2 separate regions of the Homo sapiens genome follow, and region 1 is linked to region 2. The links are contacts of gene promoters, found by promoter capture Hi-C in blood cells and fetal thymus (Javierre and others, 2016). All regions are on one chromosome and are shown on one strand. The core of a region is centred on a gene start or on the middle of the fragment in contact, and the rest is flanking DNA. Distances in the headings are between cores, read along the strand shown.

Region 1 (7,055 bases), core at 922-3,421, 100 kb before region 2:
CTCGGCCTCCTAAACTGCTGAGATTACAGGTGTGAGCCACCATGCCTGACTTAATGTTTCTCATAGACAGTAAGGCAAATGGTTGTTTATCATGTTTTCCTCAGCCAACTGAAATGGTACAGCAAAAGTTATCTTTATAAATTACAACAATATTATCACATGGTACTATGTAAGTCAGTATGTATGTATGTATGGAGAAGATGAAATAATTCTAGTAAATTAAGGAACCAAATCAAACAATAGTTCTAAGTCACAATGACTCCAACTTCCAAACTGACATAAAAAAAACACAACGGGGGCCGGGTGCGGTGGCTTGCGCCTGTAATCCCAGTACTTTGGGAGGCCAAGGTGGGTGGATCACTTGAGGTCAGGAGTTCAAGAGCAGCCTGGCCAACATGGCAAAACACTATCTCTACTAAAAATACAAAAATTAGCCGGGCGTGGTGGCGGGCACCTGTAATCCCAGCTACTCAGGAAGCCGAGGCAGGAGAATTGCTTGAACCCAGGAGGCGCAGGTTGCAGTGAGCTGAGATTGTGCAACTGCACTCCAGTCTGGGTGACAGAGCAAGACTCCATCTAAAAAAACAACAACAACAAACAAACAAACAAACAAACAAAAAAACAAACCACAACAAAACTTTAAATCCCATTCGAATGATTTGTTCTTCCTGAAAATTCAAACAAGACATTTAGCTACAAAGGGAATTACTTAAGTTTCTTTTTCTCTACCGATTTCTCTAAAAATTTAGCTGAGTCAAAAACATTCCGTTCCCCACCACATTTAATGGTATAGTTATATATCTGACATTTATATTGATTTAATACATTTTTATATTCTTCTATATTAGATATTTTCATTTACTCATCTTTAAATATTTCGGTAACTTTTGACCCTAAGATTAATAATACTTACAAATATTTCTGTAACTCCCAGAAGCAACATCAGAAAATCACATGTGATTCCCAGCCACTGTAGCAGTCCTACACAATTGTGTATAGTAGTATATATATACTCAATCTGCATTAAAGATACTGTGACAAACATATTCATTTATTTTATTACATACCTCAAAATTGCCCCTGAAAGGACCTCTGAATGATGTTCCATCCAATCCTGATGAAATGTAACGGATGTGAGGATAGCCTGCCATATCAGGAACCTATTTCAACAGAAGAGATAGGCTAAATCAATTTTAAGAATAGACTTGTGATTTACTGTTAACATTGAATAATTCAAGACCCTCAATGTTTTCAATTCAACTGCTCATAAAATTTGACTTCAATAAGAATACATAACTCCAACTAAGCATTCTGTAACAGGTTTAGGTTTCTGTTAAAATATAACCTAACTCTCCAAAATGCCCAAACTTAAGCCTGAGGCTCTTAGTAGCTCAAACTTGAAAAGAGTAAAATTGTCTTAAGATCCTGTCCATTTCAGAGAGCTTTATTAAAACAACAACAAAAAATGCACACAATTTTCCAACAAAATTCGACTTCAAGATAAGTTTTTTACTTCACTTCTGTTAAGCTTCCTAACAGCCAAAGTACCCTATGCCTTTTTTGCTTGATTCTATTAGGGAAACTTTTAACACTGTTTTCTAATTTTTTGTTAGTTACAGTCAATCTTCATTATTTATGGATTACATATGTGTGAACTGACCCACAGGCTAAAATTTACTTGTAACCCCATAATCAACACTTGTGCTTTCAGAGTCATTCGTGGATATGACCGGTGGCAAAAAATTGCAGTTGCCCAACATGCAACTCTGTTCCCAGCTGAGGTAGAACAGGGCTCTGCCGTATTTGAGCTCCTACTATAAACCAGTGTCTTGTTTGCAGACTGTTTAGTGCCACGTTTTTCACAGTTTTGTGCTTTTTGTTGGTGATTGTGTTGTTTAAAATGGCACCCAAGCATAGAGCTGAAGTGCTGTCTAGTGTTCCTAAGCAAAGAAGGCTGTCATACACCTTATGGAGAGAATAAGTTTCATTCACGCATGAGTTACAGTGTTGTTGGCTATGAGTTCAATGTTAATGATTCTACAATATTTTTTAAAGTTGTCTTTAAGCAGAAACACACATAAAAAAGGTTATACACTGATTAGTTGTGAACAGAGGTTTGCAAGGGTCCCATATTTGCTAATTCAGTGTTTGCAGCAACTGTATAGATCATAACTGCCATGCATAGTGAGAGTATTAGGAAAGGGCATTTCTGAGATACAGCACCATTCTTCCATCTTTATAAATAAATCTCTGACATTACTTTTTAATTAGCCTACACTGAATCACAACATACTTTAAGCAGAATTTATAGCTTTAACGGACACTTCATATGTGGAAAAGAATTTAAATAAGCAATAACTTTTAACCTTCAATAGCCTATTACTTAAATTGTTTACAACTTTTCTTATAACCAAGATCATTACTACTCAGCAGATAACCCAACCTCCTAAACATCTTCAAAGAAATCGGAAAGGAACTCCTGCATCCCAAATTATCTAAATCTTCACTTACCCTGAAAAGCCTCTCCTCCCTAGTCTCTTTCCTCCAGCCTTTATGGATGAGCTTTTCTCCTATTCGAACTCAATCCTTATCACCCACTCCTCCCTTCACCTGTTCACCCTGGGTCATGCTTACTTCACTACTTCCCACCAAGCCTCTCTCTCTTCAATATCTTCAAACAATTCCTCTCTAATGGTTTTCTGTCTTAAACCTGAAAATACCTTAAGTTTTTCCAAACCTAAATTCTCTACTAATCCTGGAATTACTGCCAACCAAATAGGGGTTTCCTTCACTTTCCCTTCACAGCCAAGCTTATAAAGCAAGAAGGCTATATTCACTGTCTCCATGTTTTCACTTCCTTACCGTACGTAATCTAAGAGGTGCCCCATCTACATCACTCACCATTACTGAACCATTCTGACACAAAAGACCAATAACCACTCTACTGCCAAATGCTTTCAATACTTTTCAAACTTTATTTTTTTGTGATGACACCATACTGACCATATTACAGTTCACCCTTGAACAACATAAAATGGGTTTGAACTGCATGGGTCTGCTTACATGTAGATTTTCTGCCACCTCTGCCACCCCAGAGACAGCAAGATGAATCCCTCCTTTTCCTACTCTTCAGCTTACTCAATGTGAAGACAATAAGGAAAGAGACCTTTATAATGATACACTTTCACTTAACGAATAGTAAATGTATTTTCCCTTCCTTATAATTTTCTTAACATTTTTTTCTACTTTATTGTAAACTATCATTATCTATTGTAGACTATCATTATCACGTACTTATAACATACAGAATATGTGTTGATCAACTGTTTATTTTAGCAGTAAGGCTTCCGATCAACAATAGACTATTAGTAGTTAAGATTTTAGGAACTCAAAAGTTATACTCTGATTTTCGACTGTGAGGAGGGTCAACACCCCTAACCTCTGCATTGTTCAAGTGGTAACTGTATTTTCTGATATTATTTTAACTGTGTTTCTCAACTTTTCAAGCCAGTTCTCAGAATCCTTTGTTCAAAGCATAGTATTATCATTTAAATACAGTATTGTCATTCTCTAAGGTTTTTTCACCCTCTTGTCACTCTGCACATTTTTCCTGAAAACCTAATCCTCTTCCATGGATTCATTACCTCCATATACTGACAGATCAAAACATATCTTTAACCCAAATATCTTTGGAAATCCAGACCACAGGCTTAACTTCCTATTGGACATTCAACTTTCATAGAGATTCAGTACATCCAAGACCTAACTCACCTAACCCCTTCACCCAAACCCTAAATATCTCTCAAATGTGTATCATCATTTTTATGCCAACTACAATTGCCTTCATTCAGGCATTCATCAATATTTACCTCTTCTACTATAATGTCCTAACTGGTTTCCCACATTTACATCTATTTTTCCACATAACTGAGGAGGTGATCTAACTATAATCTGATTAAATAACTCTAAAATCATAAATTTGATCAGGACATTTCCCCTTCAATGGTTCCTGAGTTCCAGTTTCTTGGTAGAACAGTTTTATTTCTCACTGCTGCCTGACCCTCACTCCTAAAATTAGAAACACCAGCTTACTTGGAGTTCCCAGTGCTTGTGCTATTTGCTACATCTTTACATGCTGTAACCTCTGCAAGAGCACCATTCCATAATCCAGTCTGCTTAGAAGTCACATGTACCAGAAAGCTTCTCTGAAAGCTTTCCTGCAGTGCCTCTACCCACAACAACACAAAACTATTCCCTTTTCTGTACCATTTATATAACAAGTATGTAATACAAACAGCAAACGCAATGTATGTTTTGCTGAACTTGTCCTTTAGCACTTTACAAAATCTGAACCTGCTTAAATCAGATGTAGAGAATTAGTATAATCTTTCTGCAGATTAGAAAATCAGGCTGGGTGCCCTGGCTCAAGCCTGTAATCCCAGCACTTTGGGAGGCCAAGGTGGGCAGATCACTTGAGGCCAGGAGTTTGAGACCAGCCTGGCCAAATGGTGAAACCCCATCTCTATTAAAAATACAAAAATTAGCCAGGCATGGTGGCACGTGCCTGTAATCCCAGCTACTTGGGAGGCTGAGGCAGGAGAATCACTTGAACCCAGGAGGTGGAGGTTGCAGTGAGCTGAGATCATACTACTGCACTCCAGCCTGGGTGACAGAGTGAGACTCTGTCGAAAAAAAAAGAAAAAAGAAAATCAAGTATGACTGCATCAGAACGGATCTATTACCACTTACGGCAAAATAACTGAAGCACAGTATACTCCTGACAGTGGATTAAGAGTATCTTGGTATACAAAAAACCCCACACTTTTTTGTCATGTCGTACATTAAGAGTACATGTTATGATGCAAATTATACGTGCAGATTTTAATACATCTAATACCTTTTTATAGCACAATTTTAGCTAACAAGATTACTCTCAAATTCTATTAAAACATCTATATTAATATAGTGAAGTATTTCCAATAAAATACTTAGAAAAGGAACTTTTAGAACATGTCAAAATTTTGAAAATTTTCCATTTTACCATTAAAGGAAGAGCTCCTAATTGTAAGTGATGAAGTCGAGGAGGTGCGTGATAATGGGCCAAGTGAGGATGCAATGCACCAGGTGTATAAGTAGCTGCAGTCACTCCAGCTTCAATTCCCAGTTCCCTAACGAAAGGATGAGAACAGTTTAATCCTCCTTAGGGTCTCTTTTTTATCAACAGACATGGGGAGTTATGTTTACACTTAAAAAAGTAATCTAAGGTTTCTTAACTTACAAAGCTGAGGAAAGATAATTTAGCCCAAAATATTTAACTAATAATTTCAAATTTATTTTAGAACTGAAAGCTCTAAAAACTTAAATTTTGTGACAATGAGGAGCAAAGCATTTCTACTTGGTTTCACATCTTACAAAGGAAGGAAATATATGGCTACGAAGTTCCCTTCCAAGATAAAAGTCTGATTCTACTTGAGGAGCATACAACATAGAATTTACTTTTTTGGTGTATCTGAATGTTACAGATGCTCTCTGGGTTTTTGTTTGCTAGATATCATCTCTTGGTTGTTGACATTAAGGACGATTAGAATAGCAAACTCTTCTACACCTTATAAAAGAAGGGCAAACAAAATTTTAGAAGGGGTAAAACTGTTATATGCTAAGTCTTCATTTACTTATTCTCATTTTATGTTCTGCCTCAAAAGTCATTGTGGTTCAAGATCTCAATGAATGCCCACACACAATGGATTCAGAAAATTAATCTAATGAAAATCTGCTTCCACCTATCTAGGAAAGACCACAAGTCTAGGAGAAGGCAGGCTAAATTTCCCTTGTCAATGGCAGGTGAGGGTGGTGGAGCAAATCTGAGTACAAAGGTGGGGGTCAGATAAAGAAGATGTGAAAAGTAAGATCAGTCGAGGGAGTCAACTTTGGTAGTAACCCTGAAGAACAGGAAAAAAGGTCCACGCCTCTTACTTACATGGGAACTCTAAAAAACCTAAACTCACAGGAGAGAGTAGCATGTTGTTTACCAGAGGCTGGGGAGAGGGTGGGGGGTCATGAATGAGGAAAGGGGAGATGCTGGTCGATGGGTACAAAGCTTCAGCTGGGAGGAGTAAGTTCTGATATTCTACTGCACAGCATGGTGACTACAGTGAAGAATAACGTACCGTTTATTTCAAAACTGCGACAAAAGATTTTAAATATACTCACCACAAAGAAATGATCAATATTGGAGGTGATAAATGTGCCATTAGCCTGATTTAATCATTTCACAATGTATGTATGTATTGAAATACTATGCTGTACCTCCAAATATATACAATTATTATTTTTCAATTAAACATAAAATAACACCTAAAAAAAGTACTACTCCTGCTTGATATGGTTCCCTGCCCCAGCTCCTATTCTTTCCTCTCCAAACCTCTATCTGCCCAGAGGCAGTGTCTCAGTTAAACTGGGGATTAGGTTTCTCCACATCATCCTTCTGCAAAGCAATCAATCACAAGGCATCTCTTCCAATAGTTTTACCACAAGCTGTGAAGCACTGTTTTGAAATTAAAGAAGATACTGACCAGGCAGACCTCTCTGGAGCCTGTCGAGGATGTGAGGACATAGTCTGAGGCACATGAATATGATGCCCATGACCATAGTTTGGGTGCATCCTATGTGGATGGGGTGGGGGGCGTTCATGTGCCCGCCTGGAAACACAGAACACAAAAAGACCACTGGAAATAATTGAATAATTGGTTATTTCTTTTCTTAATGTAGAAAAAAATCCCTAGTATTAATACTATAAACATCTATAGATTAGTCATAAAATAAATTTTATAATAAATTATAAAAACATATAAAATTATTTGTTAATAAATCAAGAAACCATCACCTTCTCCATAAATTCTAATTGCTCATTTATTCCAATGCTTCCAATTCAAATATCACCCAAGGAAAAAGTAATTTTAACATTATCTTGTACACCTTCTTTACAAGTGATATTTTAAATAGGAGAATAATAGGAATTAAATAAAAATAAAATTTTTAAAAATTAAATACCCCAG
Region 2 (6,926 bases), core at 3,339-5,838:
TAACATGGTGAAAAACCGTTTCTACTAAAAATACAAAAAGTTAGCAGGCGTGGTGGCGCGCTCCTGTAATCCCAGCTACTCAGGAGACTGACGCAGAAGAATTGCTTGAACCCGGGAGGTGGAGGCTTCAGTGAGCTGAGATCACACCACTGCACTCCAGCTTGGGCAACGAGGGAAACTCCATCTCAAAATAAAATAAAATAAAATAAAATACCAGACATTTGCAAGTTTTCTCCCTCATTCCTCAGTCTCTATCACTAATAAAAAGTGGTCATTTTCTTACATAAACATAATGCCATTATCATCCCTAACAAAGTTACAATAACTCCTTGATATCATCTAATACCCATCCATATTCAGATTTCCCCCAATGTTTCAAAAATGACTTTCTACAATTGGTTTGAGTCAGGGTTTAAACAACACCAACATATTGTATTTGGTTACTACACATAAAATAATTTTAATCTGTCTACATCATCTGACAGCAAATATGAAAAGCTTAACAGACAAACCAAATAATTAATTTACATTTGTAGATTCTCTAGAATCAAACCTCACCTAATGCATTTGCCGCCCCTGCTATCTGTAGCAGTCTTCCTCCAAATCGTCACTATGGCTGATTTTTTCTAGTCATTGAAGTCACAGGTCAAATTACCACCTCTAAAAAGGCCCTCCCTAACCACTCAATCTACAGTAAAACCACTTCCATCCATGCCGTATCACATGGTCCTATTTTCCTCATGGCACTTACCACTACCTGAAACCATTCTGTTTATTATGTTCCCACACACAGAACAGAATGTCAGCTCCATGAAGGCAGAGTGCCTTCACTGAAGACCAGTGACTGTGCCTAGAACATGAGACATTCAATAAATGTATCTACGTAATAATGCAGTACCGCTCTTTAAAATGTAAGCTCAGCTAAGTATTTGGAGGCTTTTTTGTTGTTTTGTTTTTTTTCAAGATGGAGTCTTGCTCTGTCACCCAGGCTGGAGTGCAGATCTCAGCTCAGTGGAACCTCCACCTCCCGGGTTCAAGCAATTCTGCCTTACCCTCTTGAGCAGCCAGGATTACAGGCGCATGCCACCACCATGCCCAGCTAATTTTTGTATTTTTTTTTTAGTACAGACGGGGTTTCACCATGTTGGCCTGGCTGCTCTCGAACCCGACCTCATGATCTACCCGCCTCGGCTTCCCAAAGTGCTGGGATTACAGGTATGAGCAAGCGCACCCAGCCTCAGCTAAGTATTTGTCTTTAAATATTTGTAATTCACTCCTCATGTAATGATATAAATTGAGTACCTGTAGAAACCTGGGCCAGCTGTTACCAAGAATCTGTAGGATGTAGGAAAGAAACAAACAGAGGTATAAGACATTCAAATGTAATTGTGGACTTTTACTGAACAATAATTACAGGTTTCTGAAAGAAAAACAAATTATTCCAGATGATTTTTAAAATGTTACCAGGAGTAATAAAAAATTTCATTTTTAGTACCATCTGAAAGCTATTAAAGCTTCAGTAATTAATATCTACAATGGGACAACAATAGCAATAATATGTGGAACAACAATCATAGTTTTTTTGTTTGTTTGTTTTGAGAAACAGTCTCGCTCTGTCGCCCAAGCTGGAGTGCAGTGAGTGGCACGATCTCCGCTTACTGCAACCTCCGCCTCCGAGGTTCAAGCCATTCTCCTGCCTCAGCTTCCCAGGCAGCTGGGACTACAGGCGCACACCACTAAGCTCGGCTAATTTTTTGTATTTTCAGTAGAGATGGGGTTTCACCATTTTGGCCAGACTGGTCACCTCAAGTGATTCGCCCGCCTTGGCCTCCCAAAGTGCTGGGATTACAGGGGTGAGCCACCACGCCTGGCCCACAGCTTCATGACAGGTTTTACACATACACATTTCATGAGGGAATTGATGCTTTTTGTACAGCATTTCTTTCTGGGGATTCAATTACGACAAACACAACAATGAATACCAAAAACCTAACTAGATATACAAACCATTAAATTTGGGACCTAAAGAAAACGAAAGTTATCTATTCTACAATTCTCATTTAAACAGAGAGACCTGAAGCCCAAGGAGGGTTAACAATAAACTCGGAGATCTAATGTATAGCAAGCAAAGATAGATCTAAAATCTAGATCTCCTGTCCTTAGCCCTATATTATTTCATAAGATAACGTTACCCATAGAACGGTAATGTCAAGTTATAACATATTTTAACTGCTATCATTTTTCAGATGGTCTCTTTTATTTCCTACTGAAGTCTTGGCCCAAAAGGGGAGAAAAAGTCAAAAGAAGGGCACATAAGTATGCCTCAAGTAAAGCATGATACAGAAACCTCTCTTTAAACTATAACAAAAAAAAAAAGAAGGAAACATCTAAAAATCTAAATGGTTTGATTCAATTAGTTTCCTTTATATTTTTTATTTTAAAGTAAAATAACTAGGAGTATCTGCTAAATGACTGCACCTTAGCTTTATACAAGCAAGGTGCTTTTCTCTTAAACATCACAACAGCTCTCTCTCAATAATCTGTAGAAATGGAGTACCAAAGTGAAATTCGTTAAGATGTAACCTCTGCTGTAATGCATTTTTCACCAAAATGAAGTCACTTTGTTTATACCTTTCTTTAAAAACCAGTTCTATGTCTGGTGAAATAACTAGCAAACAAGTGGCCAACAGACACCAAACAAAAGTTAAGAAGTGACAGAAGGATCTGCACATGATATAGCACCCGTGATAAACAAGGAGACTCATTCTTCCTACTTTTTCCTAAAATATTATTTAGATTTATAAACACCCTCACCAATTCTTAGAATACTGTTGTGAATCTTTGGTCACAAACAAATGAGCAGGAGAGAGATGATAAAGTCATTTGTCCAAGGTTAAATGGCAAGAAAGTGTCCAAAATAAGATAAATCAAGGCTTTAGAAACAATCAATTTAAAATGATTGTAAAAGTAAAAGGGCTTCCTTCTTATCCATCTGTTTCACCTCACAAATATAACCAGACTAGGGTGAAACAATGTGGCTTATACTGACATGAAGATTTTTACAAAAATACATATAGTAATAAACTATCAAAAGATGTATCTTTACTGTAATAAAGCTAAGTCCAGCGTTACAGAAGTTGTGTATGGTAATCTCAAAATCACATTCAAGCATTTACAACCATCACACACACACACAACAAAAATGGGAAAGGAAATGGAACCTTAGCTTATGTTTTTCCCAGTTTGTTCTTTTTAGTTCAAGAGGCCCCTAAAACAAGAAAATTATAGATAAAATACCAAATGAAATAAAGTTTAGATTAAGTCACATTCAAAAGCTACAGGAAATCCTACAAAACGTAGTCTATGTCAGCTGGCATCTTACCATTCAAGAGAATTCTAAATTAATGCCGCACATAAATCAAGAAACAGGAAAGCTTACAACAACACAATGGAGTCACCCCACAACACACACACGAACAAATTAAATGAATACCTCATACTTTCTGGTATTTTTTGAATAATCAAAACTTAGGTTGAGAAATACCCATCTGTAAAGATCTATCTACTATAACCTATTTAAGAACTGTTGTAACAAATCTATTTCTGCTGCACTGAACAGATATTCCCACTATAGCACTGACACTGACTCTGATAAATTATCGAAGGACAATAGTAAAAACATCAGTTTCTTTTTAAATGACCAACAAGCCAACTCCATACAAAATCTGACGCGTCTGTATTTCAGCTGTTCCGCGGACTACGTTTCCTTGATCACAGCAGCAGCAGGCGACTCCCTAGCCGTCAGGGCTGACTTAGCGCCCTCCAACTCCCCGGGTCCGGGTTACCTTCATCACTCCATTGTCAAATCGCACTCCCACGCCTCGGTCCTCAGCCCCCATCCTGAGACTCTAGGGAGAGTCGGAAGTGGGAGAGAAATCCCCTCACCCACACTCCCTCACTGTAGGCTGTGGGTGTGTCGGTAGACGAATGCCTTGCCCAAACACAAATCGTCTGCGGAGACCCAGACCCTAAGTCACCACCGAGCCAGAGATAACCGGCCGGTCACCGACCCCAGCCTTCCGCGGCCGCAGCCCTTCCTCTTTCTCCCCTCCAGGCCGGCCCCTCCCCCGTTGCGCGCACGCGCGGCCTCCAATGGATCCCCTCCCCCCCCGTTCCCCTCACCTTAATCATTAGCCACCCTCTTCTCTTCCAGGGTCCGGGAATCACTGACCCAGGAAGGAAGACAGAAATGTAAGGCGTAAAGAGTAATGCGTCGAGAGCCAGCGATCTGCGCCTCAGACGTCGGCCTAATAGGCCCCTAGAGTCAAGAACAGTGTCTGTCACCGCCACCAAAACTGTACGTGCGGCAGCGCCTGGACTCGGCCCAGCTAAGCCGGCGTGGGTTCAGAATGCCTAATTTGGTCCCACAAGAACTCCTTCTCTGAAGCTGCGGGCGTTTCTACGCTGCGCAAACCGAACACCTCCTCGCCGTCGCCGCCACTGCCGCTGCTCCCCTACAGCCGCCGCCGCCGCTTCGCCGCCGCCGCCGCCTAACCAATTCCTCCCCTACCGAGGAGAGCACGACACTAGGGCTCTTTACGACAGTTCGGAAAGTGAGAGCGCAGTAGCCTTCACGCCTCCATTAACATCTGTTTGTTTCTGCGCTTGCTCGATTCCCGTTTCTCACCGTCCCGCCCCCTCGGTCCCGGCCCTCCCCCTTTGTACTGGTTTTATCAGTCTGTTGGCGAACTGAAAGGTGTCACAAAGCTCATTATTTAATTTTCTTTGGTGATTATGCGTTCAACATTTAAGCCAAATCTTGACTACATCTTGGTTCATTTTTTCGTAACTAAAAATTAACCAACTACAGAATTGATACATTTACAGATATACGTAAACAAAAACATCATGGGTTAGTGTCTTTCACAACAAATGATACCCATATCATATGCGCTAATGACATAAAGATCACGGCACCTCACTGTTAAAGTGAATTTGCTTCCGGAATCAGATCAAAAGTGGTCACATATCTCCTGCGAACTCGGGCTGTACAATCGCATAAGCCTCCTTGTTTATTTTATAAAAGTCAGTAGATAACAAATGCGTCATTATATGCATTAGGAGGATAGAGAGAGGATGAGCTTCAGAGTCCATCAGGCAGACTTCCTTTCAAAGTCCAGTGGTGCCACTTAAGAGTTCTCTGATTGATGAGATCCTTATAAATCTTAGTTTCCTCCTCTATAAATTGGGATAACGTATTTACCTCAAAAGGTTCTTGTTAGATTAAATGAGACAATTTATATAATGCTCTGAACATTACTTGCCAATTAAGTGTTCACTAAACATTAATTCCCTCCCTTTGCCATCAACTCATCTTTTTCAATACTTTTTTTGTTCACTCATATTTTCCGTATCATTCAGTAAGCAAATGATTTTGGCCGGGCACGGTGGCTCACGCCTGTAATCCCAGCACTTTGGGAGGCCTAGGCGGGTGGACTACCTGAGATCAGGAGTTCAAGACCAGCCTGGCCAACATGGTGAAACTCCTTCTCCACTAAAAATACAAAAACTAGCTGGGCGTGGTGGCGGACGCCTGTAATCCCAGCTACTCGGCAGGCTGAGGCAGGAGAATCGCTTGAGCCAGGGTGGCCGAGGTTGCAGTGAGCCATGATCAAGCCATTGCACCCCAGCCCGGGTGACAGGGAGACTCCGTCTCCAAGAAAAAAAAAAAAAAGGCTGGGCGCGGTGGCTCACGCCTGTAATCCCAGCACTTTTGGAGGCCAAGGCGGGCGGATCATGAGGTCAGGAGATGGAGACCATCCTGGCTAACACGGTGAAACGCTGTCTCTACTAAAAATACAAAAAATTAGCCGGGCGTAGTGGCGGGCGCCTGTAACCCCAGCTACTCGGGAGGCTGACACAGGAGAATTGCTAGGACCCGGGAGGCAGAGGTTGTAGTGAGTGCGAGATTGTGCCACTGCACTCCAGCCTGGGCGACAGAGTGAGATTCCGTCTCAAAACAAACAAACAAACAAACAAACAAAACACACACACACACACACACACAAATGATTTTAAAATTACAATAATGATCAAGGATAGCAGATTGTGTGGGAAAACTAAAAGAGCATTCGACTAGGATTTTCCTCAATCCTCCTATTTTCTCACTCTTAAACATAGAATTTTGCCCGGACTATCTTATCTTCTCCCTTGATTTTAACTGTTACTATCTCATGACTTCTCAAACCTGTATTTCCAGCTCTAACCTTTTTTCTGAAGCTTTTGACCTGTGTTCTTCAATTAGGTAGACACCAGCCATATGTGGCTGCTGAGCACTTAAAATGTGGCTAGACTCCCTCCTCTTCTCCCTCTCCCCTCCCCTTTTCCTTTTCCGTCTCCCTAAAAAAATAAATAAATAAAAATAATTGAGAAGTGCTTTAAGTGAAAAATACACATCGAATTTCAAAGGTACAATACAAAAAAAGACTGAAAAATCTCAGTACTTTTTAATATTTATTATATGTTGAAATAATATTTTGGATATATTGGGTTAAATCAGTGGTTCTGAAGCTGGGATGATTTAGCAACATCCGGAGACATTGCTGTTTGTTACAACTCAGGGAGGAGGGGCGTGGCTACTGGCATCTATCCACTAGGATAGAGGCTAGGGATGCTGGCCTCTCCACAACAAAGAATTCTTTGGCCGAAAATGTTAATAATGCAGTTGAGAAACCCCAGATGAAATAAAAGGGTGAGGGCTTCAACCCTGTTGGGATGCTGAAGGAAAAGAGTCAGTAGAAAAAAGGAGTGGAAAGATAAAGAAAATAAAGGGATGCGCAATGGAGAAAAATACCTATGGAGCCAGAGGAAATGAGATTTAAAGCTCAGATGGAAATTTAGCCTTGGATAGGAGAAGGGATGGCCTT

The links. The method cuts DNA at HindIII sites, captures the fragments that hold promoters and counts their contacts. A CHiCAGO score of 5 or more calls a contact.
Region 1: a fragment that was not itself captured here is called in contact with the fragment with the promoter of RNF111 in region 2 in 5 of 17 cell types (megakaryocytes, erythroblasts, endothelial precursors and 2 more); the score reaches 7.6 in megakaryocytes.

Annotation. Positions count from the first base shown.
Region 1 is chr15:59,083,772-59,090,826 of GRCh38, reverse strand. It overlaps RNF111 (ring finger protein 111), which reads right to left. Exons shown (of 14, transcript NM_017610.8): 9 at 6,573-6,698; 10 at 5,042-5,168; 11 at 1,068-1,160. Among named protein-coding and RNA genes, the nearest start is that of CCNB2, 18 kb to the left of the region's middle. The HindIII fragment of the contact is 1,282 bases long and covers 1,531-2,812 here.
Region 2 is chr15:58,985,325-58,992,250 of GRCh38, reverse strand. It overlaps RNF111 (ring finger protein 111), which reads right to left and starts at 4,588. Exons shown (of 14, transcript NM_017610.8): 1 at 4,183-4,588. RefSeq lists an enhancer at 642-1,141 and a silencer at 3,705-3,869. The HindIII fragment of the contact is 2,845 bases long and covers 3,437-6,281 here.